Linked DNA regions of Homo sapiens: regions 1 and 3 are each linked to region 2. The links are contacts of gene promoters, found by promoter capture Hi-C in human tissues and cell types (Jung and others, 2019). All regions are on one chromosome and are shown on one strand. The core of a region is centred on a gene start or on the middle of the fragment in contact, and the rest is flanking DNA. Distances in the headings are between cores, read along the strand shown. Region 1 overlaps ADCY9 (adenylate cyclase 9). Region 2 holds the start of ZSCAN10 (zinc finger and SCAN domain containing 10). Region 3 holds the start of SEC14L5 (SEC14 like lipid binding 5).

The links. The method cuts DNA at HindIII sites, captures the fragments that hold promoters and counts their contacts. A contact is called where the count stands out against the background at its distance.
Region 1: a fragment that was not itself captured here is called in contact with the fragment with the promoter of ZSCAN10 in region 2 in 1 of the 25 tissues and cell types used here (dorsolateral prefrontal cortex).
Region 3: a contact is called between the fragment with the promoter of SEC14L5 here and the fragment with the promoter of ZSCAN10 in region 2, in 1 of the 25 tissues and cell types used here (psoas muscle).

What each region holds. Positions count from the first base shown.
Region 1 is chr16:4,107,602-4,110,773 of GRCh38, reverse strand. The region is part of intron 2 of ADCY9 (adenylate cyclase 9); the gene reads left to right. Among named protein-coding and RNA genes, the nearest start is that of ADCY9, 7.3 kb to the left of the region's middle. RefSeq lists an enhancer at 1,833-2,332. The HindIII fragment of the contact is 6,430 bases long and covers 1-3,172 here.
Region 2 is chr16:3,097,955-3,101,028 of GRCh38, reverse strand. ZSCAN10 (zinc finger and SCAN domain containing 10) reads left to right here and starts at 1,735. Exons shown (of 6, transcript NM_032805.3): 1 at 1,735-1,839. RefSeq lists a silencer at 713-772 and an enhancer at 933-982. The HindIII fragment of the contact is 18,144 bases long and covers 1-3,074 here.
Region 3 is chr16:4,956,465-4,959,659 of GRCh38, reverse strand. It overlaps SEC14L5 (SEC14 like lipid binding 5), which reads right to left and starts at 1,330. Exons shown (of 16, transcript NM_014692.2): 1 at 1,215-1,330; 2 at 274-387. The coding sequence starts at 336. RefSeq lists an enhancer at 803-1,338 and silencers at 1,142-1,437, 1,236-1,445. The HindIII fragment of the contact is 18,853 bases long and covers 1-3,195 here.

The DNA.
Region 1 (3,172 bases), core at 154-2,653, 1.0 Mb before region 2:
CCCAAAAGCCACCACCCTTTTCCTAGAAGTGTCTGCCTAAGCCTACCTTTACTCTACAGGAAATTAAAAGTAGGTATAAGGTAAGGCTGGGCGCAGTGGCTCATGCCTGTAATCCCAGCACTTTGGGAGGCCAAGGCGGGTGGATCACCTGTGGTCATGAGTTGGAGACCAGTGTGGCCAATATAGTGAAACCCCGTCTCTACTAAAAATACAAAAATTAGCCTGGTGTGGTGGTGTGCGCCTGTAATCCCAGGTGCTCGGGAGGCTGAGGCAGAAGAATCGCTTGAACCCAGGAGGTGGAGGTTGCAGTGAGCTGTGATCATGTCCACTGCACTCCAGCCTGGGCGACAGCCTAGGCGAGACTGCGTCTCAAAAAAAAAAAAAAAAAAAAAAAAAAGTAGGTATAAGTATGATTGCAAAACTGCCCTGAGCTGCTACTTTCCGCCTTTGGGAAAGCCCAGCTCTGCAGGAGCAGTCATGGAGCCGTATAACACTGCCTGCCTCTTCAATAAAGGTGTTTTCTTTCCTGCCACCGGCTCACCCTTGAATTATTTCCTGGGCAAAGCCAAGAACCCTCTTGGGCTCGGCCCCACTTTGGGGCGCGTCTGACCTGCGTTAATAGTTCCCAACCTCCGTGAGCTCACAGTTAAAAATGTTGTGGAGTATGTTCGGGAGTGGGGAGCGCTTTAGAGGGGGCTCCTGCTGGAGCTGGGTCCTGAGATCAGGCTGTGGCTCTCCAGGTGGACAGAAGAGCACCAGGGCAGAGCGGAGAGGTGGGTATGGCTGGGCCCTGTGCTTCTCTGTGGGGGCGGACGATTGTTAGTTGTTCATCAGGACAAGGAAGGCCATGGGTAGCGTGGGAAGGAGTTTGCATTTGACCCCATAGGTGTCAGGGAACCACTCAACAGGGGGCTTAGGTGATCTGACTTGCAGTTTTAGAAAGTTCACTCTTTCAGAGCTAGTGAGTGTGGGTTGGAAAGAGATTAATGAGGTGTCGAGTAAATCCCAGGTAGGGGTGATGGTGGCCCAATCCAAAGTTACAGTAGCAGTGATGGAGGTGATGGGATCTGAGTGGCATTAGGAAGAGCAGCTTGATGGGACTGCAAGCCAGATTTAAACAAACGACTGGCAGGAGGGGAAGGGCTTGACCATGTGAATGGGAAATGGCATTTTAAGTTTCTGGAAGTGACTTGGCGACAATGTGGAGTCAGGAATGGGTGAGGGGCCTTTGAAGTTGCTATGGTATGAATGGAGAATGCAGGATGGACTTGCAGAGTACAGAGGCCCGGAACCCCTGGCTTGCTTACTCATTCAGCAAATCATTTACTCCGTGCCAGGCACGGTTCTGGGTTCTGGCAATACAGCCGTAAACAAAACAGACAACAATTCCTGCTCTTGTAATAGGGGACAAGAATTTTTAAGTCAATAATATAGGAGGATCGCTGGAGCCCACGAGGTCGAGGTTGCAGAGAGCCGTGATTGCACCACTGCATTCCAGCCTGGGCGACAGAGTGAGACCCTGTCTCTAAGAAACAAAAACCAGGCCTTCAAATAGGGGAGATCTAATAGAGGGGACAACAGGGGAGTCAAACCATAAATAAGTAAAATAGAAAAAGTGTTTTGTGAACAAACATAAAGCAGGAAGGGGATACAGCAGATGGGGTGTACGAGTGTGAGAAATCTTATCTAGGGTGGCCAGTCACTGGGAGAAGGTTGCAGGAATTTTTAGCATACTGCTAGGATTTTGGAAATAATCTAAAAAGTGAGGGGCCAGGCATGGTGGCTCATGCCTGTAATCTCAACACTTTGGGAGGCCGAGGTAGGCGGATCACCTGAGGTCAGGAGTTTGAGACCAGCCTGGCCAACGTGGTGAAACCCCATATTTACTAAAAATACAAAAATTAACCAGGTGTGGTGGCAGGTACCTGTAATCCCAGCTACTCGGGATGCTGAGGCAGGAGAATTGCTTGAACCTGGGAGACGGAGGTTGCAGTGAGCCAAGATTGCACCATTGCACTCCAGCCTGGGCGACAAGAATGAGACCCTGTCTCAAAAAAAAAAAAAAAAGTGTGAGGGACAGTTATTAAAGATATGGAGAAATGGGCCGGGCGTGGTGGCTCATGCCTGTAATCCCAGCACTTTGGGAGACCGAGGTGGGCAGATCAGGAGGTCAGGAGTTTGAGACCAGCCTGACCAACATGGTGAAACCCTGTCTCTACTGAAAATGCAAAAATTGGCTGGGTGTGGTCGCAGGCGCCTTTAGTCCCAGCCACTTGGGAAGCTGAGGCAGGAGAATCGTTCGAACCCAGGAGGTGGAGTTTGCAGTGAGCCGAGATCGTGCCATTGCACTCCAGCCTGGGCGATAGGGCGAGACTTTGTCGCCAAAAAAAAAAAAAAAAAAAAAAAAAAAAAATGAAGAAACGGTCTGATTAAGGTGAGGGACCTTCCACAGCATTTGGGATGAAACCGCTAGGCCTGAGGGAACCGTGGCTGTTGTATTCTGCCTTGGGCCACAAGCAAAAAATGGTGAGACGTGTTATCTCGAGCTGTTGGCTTTTCCTGTCATAGATACAGGGTCACAAAGACAGAAAATGAAACTGTTAGAAAATATCTACAGGCATCTTCTTTTCCCGTGTAAATATTAGGAAGACAGAATGAAGATGCTCCTCCGCTCTCATCCACACCCATGGTCATATCTCTGAAGAGGGGAATACCAGGGAGTGATCACATTGTCAGATGCAGAAATTAAAAAAGCTTTTTTCCCCAGCCAAACTTTATGCTTGTGGAGCAACTTGGGGAGGAGACCCGCTGGTATGCATTTGGGCAGATTGTCACCTGTTGGCCACCTCTGTGATCGAGACCTTTGCCTTAGAGGAGTTCCTATGTAGACCCTGTCTGGTGGGCCGACAGACCGACAGTGGACGGAGGCATTCTGTATGCGTTAGCCTCTGCAAACAAACACCTGTCTCATGCCGGAAATCTGGGCGCCCCATTAACCCTGAGCACGGGCCTGCCAGCTGACAGAACCCTAGCCAGGTGTTGGTTTGGGGTTCAGTTGCATGCTCAGGTGTTCCCCTTCCTTCCCCCGTTAGCTTGTCCCCACCTAAGCCTGCAACCCTTGCCACTGGGATGCTAACCCGTTAGCAGAGCTCAGTCTCCTTGCTTGGAAATT
Region 2 (3,074 bases), core at 486-2,985:
GCAGTCCTTACCTCCCAAAGATAAACCTAACCTCTCACTCTGCTCTTCACCTACTTCAGACTGCTGTCCCATATATGGTCACCAGAGACATATGAGAACCACTAGAGATAGCCCCAAACTGAAAACTGCCCACGGGCTACCCATAGCAGAATGAATAACTGATGTAATGAGGAAAATCATTCAGCAACGAGAGGGAAAGAACGCTCGATGGCATGGAGTCCCAGCTGTAGTCCCAGCTCCTTGGTAGACCGAGATGGGAGGATCACTTTAACCCAGGAGTTTGAGTCCAGCCTGGGAGATATGGCAAGACCTTGTCTCTAATAAAATAAAATAAGTGGAATTGGGAAAATTACAATTTTAAAAGAAACAAAAATTTTTAGTAGAGATGGGGTTTCACCATGTTGTCCAGGCTAGTCTTGAACTCCTGACCTCAGGTGATTAAAGAGGCTGAGTGCGGTGGCTCATGCCTGTAATCCCAGCACTTTGGGAGGCCAAGGCAGGTGGATCACCTGAGTTCAGGAGTTCAAGACTAGCCTGGCCAAAATGATGAAACCCCATCTCTACAAAAAAAAAAAAAAAAAAAAAAATGAACCGGGCATGATGAGACAGGCCCCACGCCTCTCGCTTCCGAGACTGTAATGGCTGCCTGGTCCCGCCAAGGCCACACCCGCTCCGGCGCTACAGCACCCCGCCCCGCCCCGGACACGCCCCCTCCGTCCCTACAGAACCCCGCCCCGCCCCTTGGCCTTCAGGCCCACTTCCCTGGGGGCGGGGTTTTCTGGCCCCGCCCCTGAACAAACTATGGAGTGGGAGGAGCCCGCGACTGGGAGAGCGAGGCGCGGGACGCGGGGAATGCAGAGCAGACCAAGGAGAAAGACCGTCGTACGAAGGGAGCACTAGACAACTGAAGTAGGAACAGGATGAGCTCAGGTGTTAAGTGCAGGAAAACAAAGACCCGTCAGATGAGCCAGTCAGGAGGGTCCTGGCCCCAACGGACCGAGGGGTCTAGGCCGGGGGAACGGCCAACACCTGAGAGGTGGTCCTGGCTCCCCGGGGGCTCAGAACGCTCAGGAAGGCACCAGCTGCAGCCAAGGGCACAACCCAAGAAGGCACCTTAAGCACAGGGATGGAATTAGTTTGGGGCCAAACGCTGTTGGTTAGGTCACTTCCCTCCCGGGGAGCCCTTGCTTCGTCATCGGTAAAGTTGGGACAAAAGCCACCTGGCAGGACTTGGGAGGACTTTAGGTGACCGTGTAGATGGAGCAAACTCTGCCCCATCACATCCTCCTCTTCCATTTTTTCCTAGCACCGTCGCTGCTCCTTTGCCCTAGAATGTAAGCCCCTGAGAGCAGGGCCTCATTCCTTCAGTTTCTCTCTGTGTCCTTAGCCCCTGCTTTGTAACAGTGCCTGGCACACAGGAGGCCATTGCAAAGAGTAGTCACGTGAATGAAAAGCCTAGCAAAGAAGCCAGCACACTGTGGGCATTTAAAAATGGCAGCTCTTAGCCCAAAGGAAAGACGGGCAGACCTGCAAGGGGCACCAGGCCAGTCTTGATTTGGGAGGTGGTTACACTCTCACACAGGCTGGGATTGAAATCTGGATTTCTCACTTTGTCTTCATGTCACTGGCCCCGCCCTCTTCCCATCCCGCTCCCAAACTGGGAGCTTAAGGGTTAACTCTAGGAAGCCCCTCATCACCTGGATGGGATGGGACTGGGGCAAGGAACTTCCTGTTCCATTTTCCCAGAGCCCTTCCCCAGGCTGGCGGAGGCTGGCTTTGGCCCTGGAGTCCTCAGAAAACCCCCCAGCATCTCTGCCTGTGTAGTGGGGACTCCGAGTGGTGAGTTGGAGGGAGGTCGGGGTGCAGGCTGCCAGGACGGGTGCTAGGAGCTCGCAGCAGCTTGGAGAGAGCAGGGGAGGCTCCAGGCCTTGGTGCTGGGGTGGGGGCTGGAAGAGTCTTGGGAGGATGTAGAGGGTCTGCTGGGGAGCCTCGTGCCAGCCAGCTTGGTGGACCTGTCGCGATGGGGGCGTTGGGGACGAGGGAGATCGCAGAACTTCCTGTGACATTGAAGAAGGCTGGCTTCACGTGCTCCCAGGTGGACTGATGGGCCTTGTCCACTCAGCCCAGCACGCGGAGGGAGGCCCCTCCAACAAACAACAAATCAGGCAGCTGCCAACTGTGTCCAGGGAGAAAGGGAGTGTTCCCGGCTGAGGACCCCACCTTTGCCGCCTTCCCCAACTCTGGGCTCTCAGGTGACCTGGGTGGGTCTCGTGGCAGCACCTCCACCCCGGGCTCCAAATTAAGCTGCTCAAATGTTGGATGGTGGCTGTAGAGCCTCTGCCTGCCTCCCTACCCAGCCCACCCCCAACAGAGGTGCATATTAACAGAGCTTTTGTCCTGGAGATCTGGGGGGAGGGAGAGATTCTCTGAAGCCAACTTGTCTCGAATTCCACCTCTTTGAAACCTTTTGGAGAGATCTCACCTGGAGATTCCGGCCTCCCTGTGTGGCTTGCCCTGAGAGCTGAAATTTGGAATCTTCATTTTTTTTCTGTTTCATGCTGTGATATTTCGGCTAAGGCTAGGAAAATGGCACAGAGCAGGATGGAGATCAGTTCCTTTTCTGTTTCAGAGCTTTGGCACTGTGTTCTAGACCTACACTCTCAGCCTAAAGCAAACCTTGGCTCCACCTGGTGTGACCCTGAGCATGTCACCAAGTGCAAAGCTTGGTCTTTGCACTTGGCAAAGGGAGAAGTGATTGTTTCGTGCGTGGGCTGGACTGGGATGAAATGAGCTTAATCGCCAGACACTCAGTACCTGCCCGCTGCTCCTGCACGGCAATGGATGAGCAGTGATTAGTTTTCTTGTTATTTTGTGCATGCTACTAAAAACCAGTGAAACGTAATCCCATTTTCTTCCCCCTCCCCCACTCTTTTTTTTTCTTTTCTTTTCTTTTCTTTCTTTCTTTCTTTTTTTTTTTTTTTTTTTTGAGACAGGGTCTTCGCCTTTTATCCAGGCTGGTGTGCAGTGGCGCGAACATGGCTCACTGCAGCTTTGACCCCCCAGGTTCAAGCAAT
Region 3 (3,195 bases), core at 81-2,580, 1.9 Mb before region 2:
CCTTTGTTTTCTATCAGGAGAGTCTAAAGTAAGGGAGCAGGTCAGCTTCAACAAGGAGAAGGAAGAAAGACTTTGTGTTTTGGTCACTGGGCCGAGGATAGGATGGTTGGACAGAGAGGTCACTGGATAGAAGTTAAACCCACCAGGTCAGCTGAGTAACTCACTAATTCCTTCTGATCTGGGAGTCTAAGGAGCTCCGTCTTCCTACCGCCATAGCTGATCTCAAGCCCCTCCAACTGTCACATGGGGGCCCAAGAATCAGGAGTCACTCACCGCCATGACCAGCTCAAACGGGTACTTGTAGACTCGGACAGGAGACTGGTATCTTTGCACCATGTTCACGCTGGAGCACCAATGGAGGTCACCAGGCAGGGGTGTGCACAGAGCCTGGGGCGAGGAGTGACTGGTGAGGTTGCAGCTCCCACCTCGGGAAGCAGGGACACCACCCACCAAGTGTAAGGGGCAGCCCCTGGCCCCACCCACACAGCTCCCCAGCCTTCAAATTGAGAAGGCTGATATTCCCCCCAAATTACTCCAGGCCAAGCCCCAACAGCTTCCCTGTCATTAGCCATGGCCCCAGACCACGCTCAGCCTTCCAAGAGCAGTCAGCACCCCCAAACTTTCCTCTACCCCCACCCCTTCACACTGAGGGCCCCCAGAAGCCTTACGGCCACCCACACAGACACACACACATTTGCAATTCTTACACTCCCACGGTTCTATTCACGCATGCACCCCGCAGCTTGCCACAGACTTGCTGGCCTACAGCCCACCCCCGAGTCTCCTTGCACCTGCCCTCCCATTTTCCTCCCAGACACCCTGACATACACACACAGCCTTCACCACATTTCACAGGCACTGTCTCTATCACACACATGTACACACGCAGGTTTCCCTCCCACACGGGACTGCTTTTGCACACGCCTCCAACTTTGCACACACACCCTGAAACACGCACCTGCCCAGCTCCACGCACGCAATTCCCCTGGTGTGCACAGACGTGCACACACGCACACACACCCGTGCGCACATGCACACACACGTACACACACGTAGAGGCAATCGCACACGCATGCACACACAGGTCCCCGCAGCTTTGCTCACCCTCGCCCTCGGGAGCCTTTGGGAATGCAGCCTAGGGGAAGTGCCCTGGAAGCCCGCCTGGCTCGGGAGCTGAGCGCTTACCCGCGCCCGCCTGGCCTGGAGCGCAGTACCTGAGGCGGGGCCCGATCGCGGATCTCTAGCCTGGTGTGTCCCGCCTTGAACACCCTGCGGCCAGGACAGCTGTGGAAGGCCGGAGGGGCGGGAGCGAAACCTGCCGGGCCGAGAGAGCTCCAGGACCCGGGACAGCGGAGATCCTGGCCTGGCCCCGCCCCTGACCTGGTCCCGCCCACGTCCCCGGCCATGGCCCCGCCCAGGTTGGCCCTGCCCCCTAACTGGTCCCGCCCCACTCTGGCCCCGCCCCAGGCGAACTCCCCCTGGTTCTAGCCCCGCCCCTTATTTTTAGATGTCGCTTGTTTGACCACGCCCTCAGCCCAGTCCTTTCTCTAGATTGGTCACACCTCAGGAAGTCCCCTCCCCCTTCACTGGCCCCGCCCTCCAAGGCCCTCAGCCTCGGGGAATGGTAGGCCACAGGACGACCCCGCCCTAATCTAGCTCTGCCTCCAAGCAGACCCTGAGTCCGGGCCGACCCGCCCCGGACCCTGCGTCTGGCCGACAGTACTGTTTACATTTGTAGATAAGCAGAATTTACGCTTTTCTTGCTCAGATTAACCTCGCCCTCGTCCCGCTGCACTTGGGTCTGACTGGCTCCTCCACCTGTCCCCGCCCCACGGCCCGCGCATGCACCTTCGCCCACTCTGCACACCTTCACAGAGCGCCTGCTGGGGGTCAGCCCTGTCCAGGCGCTGGAGAGCCGCCGGTGAGCCACACGCACGAATCCCTGCCCTCGTGGAGTTTATACTACGGTGGGGAGACAGACACTCAATAAATAAGGCAAATATATGATGTGTGAGGTAGTGAAAAACTCTAACGAGAGAAAAATAAGCAGGAAAGGGGCTCAAGGAGCCAGCGGAGAGAAAGGACAATTTAAAACAGGTAAGAGGCCGGGCGCCATGTCTCACGCCTGTAATCCAAACACTTTAGGAGGCGGAAGCGGGAGGACCGCTTGAACCCAGGAGTTGGAGACCACCCTGGGTAACATAGCAAGAACCTATCTCTACAAAAAAATTTTTTTTTAGTTTAGGCAGGGCGCGGTGGCTCACGCCTGTAATCCCAGCACACTGAGAGGCCAAGGCAGGCAGATCAGCTGAGGTCAGGAGTTCGAGAACAGCATGGCCAATATGAGGAAACCCCGTCTCTACTAAAATACAAAATTAGCCGGGCATGGTGGCGTATACCTGTAATCTCAGCTACTCGGGAGGCTGAGGCAGGAGAATCGCTTGAATCAAGGAGGCGGAGGTTGCAGTGAGCCGAGACTGCGCCACTGCACTCCAGCCTGGGCAAGAAGAACAAAGCTCCGTCGCAAAAAAAAAAAAAAAAAATTAGCCAGGCGTGTTGGCACGTGCCTGTGGTCCCAGCTACTCAAGAGGCTGAGGCAGGAGGATCCCTTGAGCCCAGAAGTTCAAAGCTGCAGTGAGCTGTTACCTGGCCACTGCACTCCAGCCTGGGCAACAAAGCAAGACTCGGTCTCAAAATAAATAAGTAAATAAATAAATAAAACAGGGAGTAAGGGGGCCTCCCTTGGGAGAGTGACATTTGTCCATCACTCTCATTTTAACTCACACTTAACCCCTTTCAGCCCTCCCAGGACTCCCAGGGGACCAACCTTGCTCCCAGAAGTCCTGCCTTGCCACTCCTCATCTGTTTAGCCTACAAGACCCAAGAAATTGGCTCTGGACAGTGCTGTCATCCATGTATTCACTCATTCAACATTTACTGAGCACCTACTACGTGCCACCGTGGGGTGAATTCACCCCTTCAAGCAGGGGAAGTCAGAGGTGGCCAGGGAGATGGACAACCCCTGATATATTTCAAGTATGTCACTGCACCCTGTGAAAATCACCTCTCTTCCCTTCCTAGCCTGCATCACATTCTAATATTGCATTTATTCGTTTTATATATCTGTGGGTTCCTGGAGGTCTCTCTCAGGAGACTGTGAGCTCCCTGAGGGCAGGGGCAGTGGCTGCCTTATTC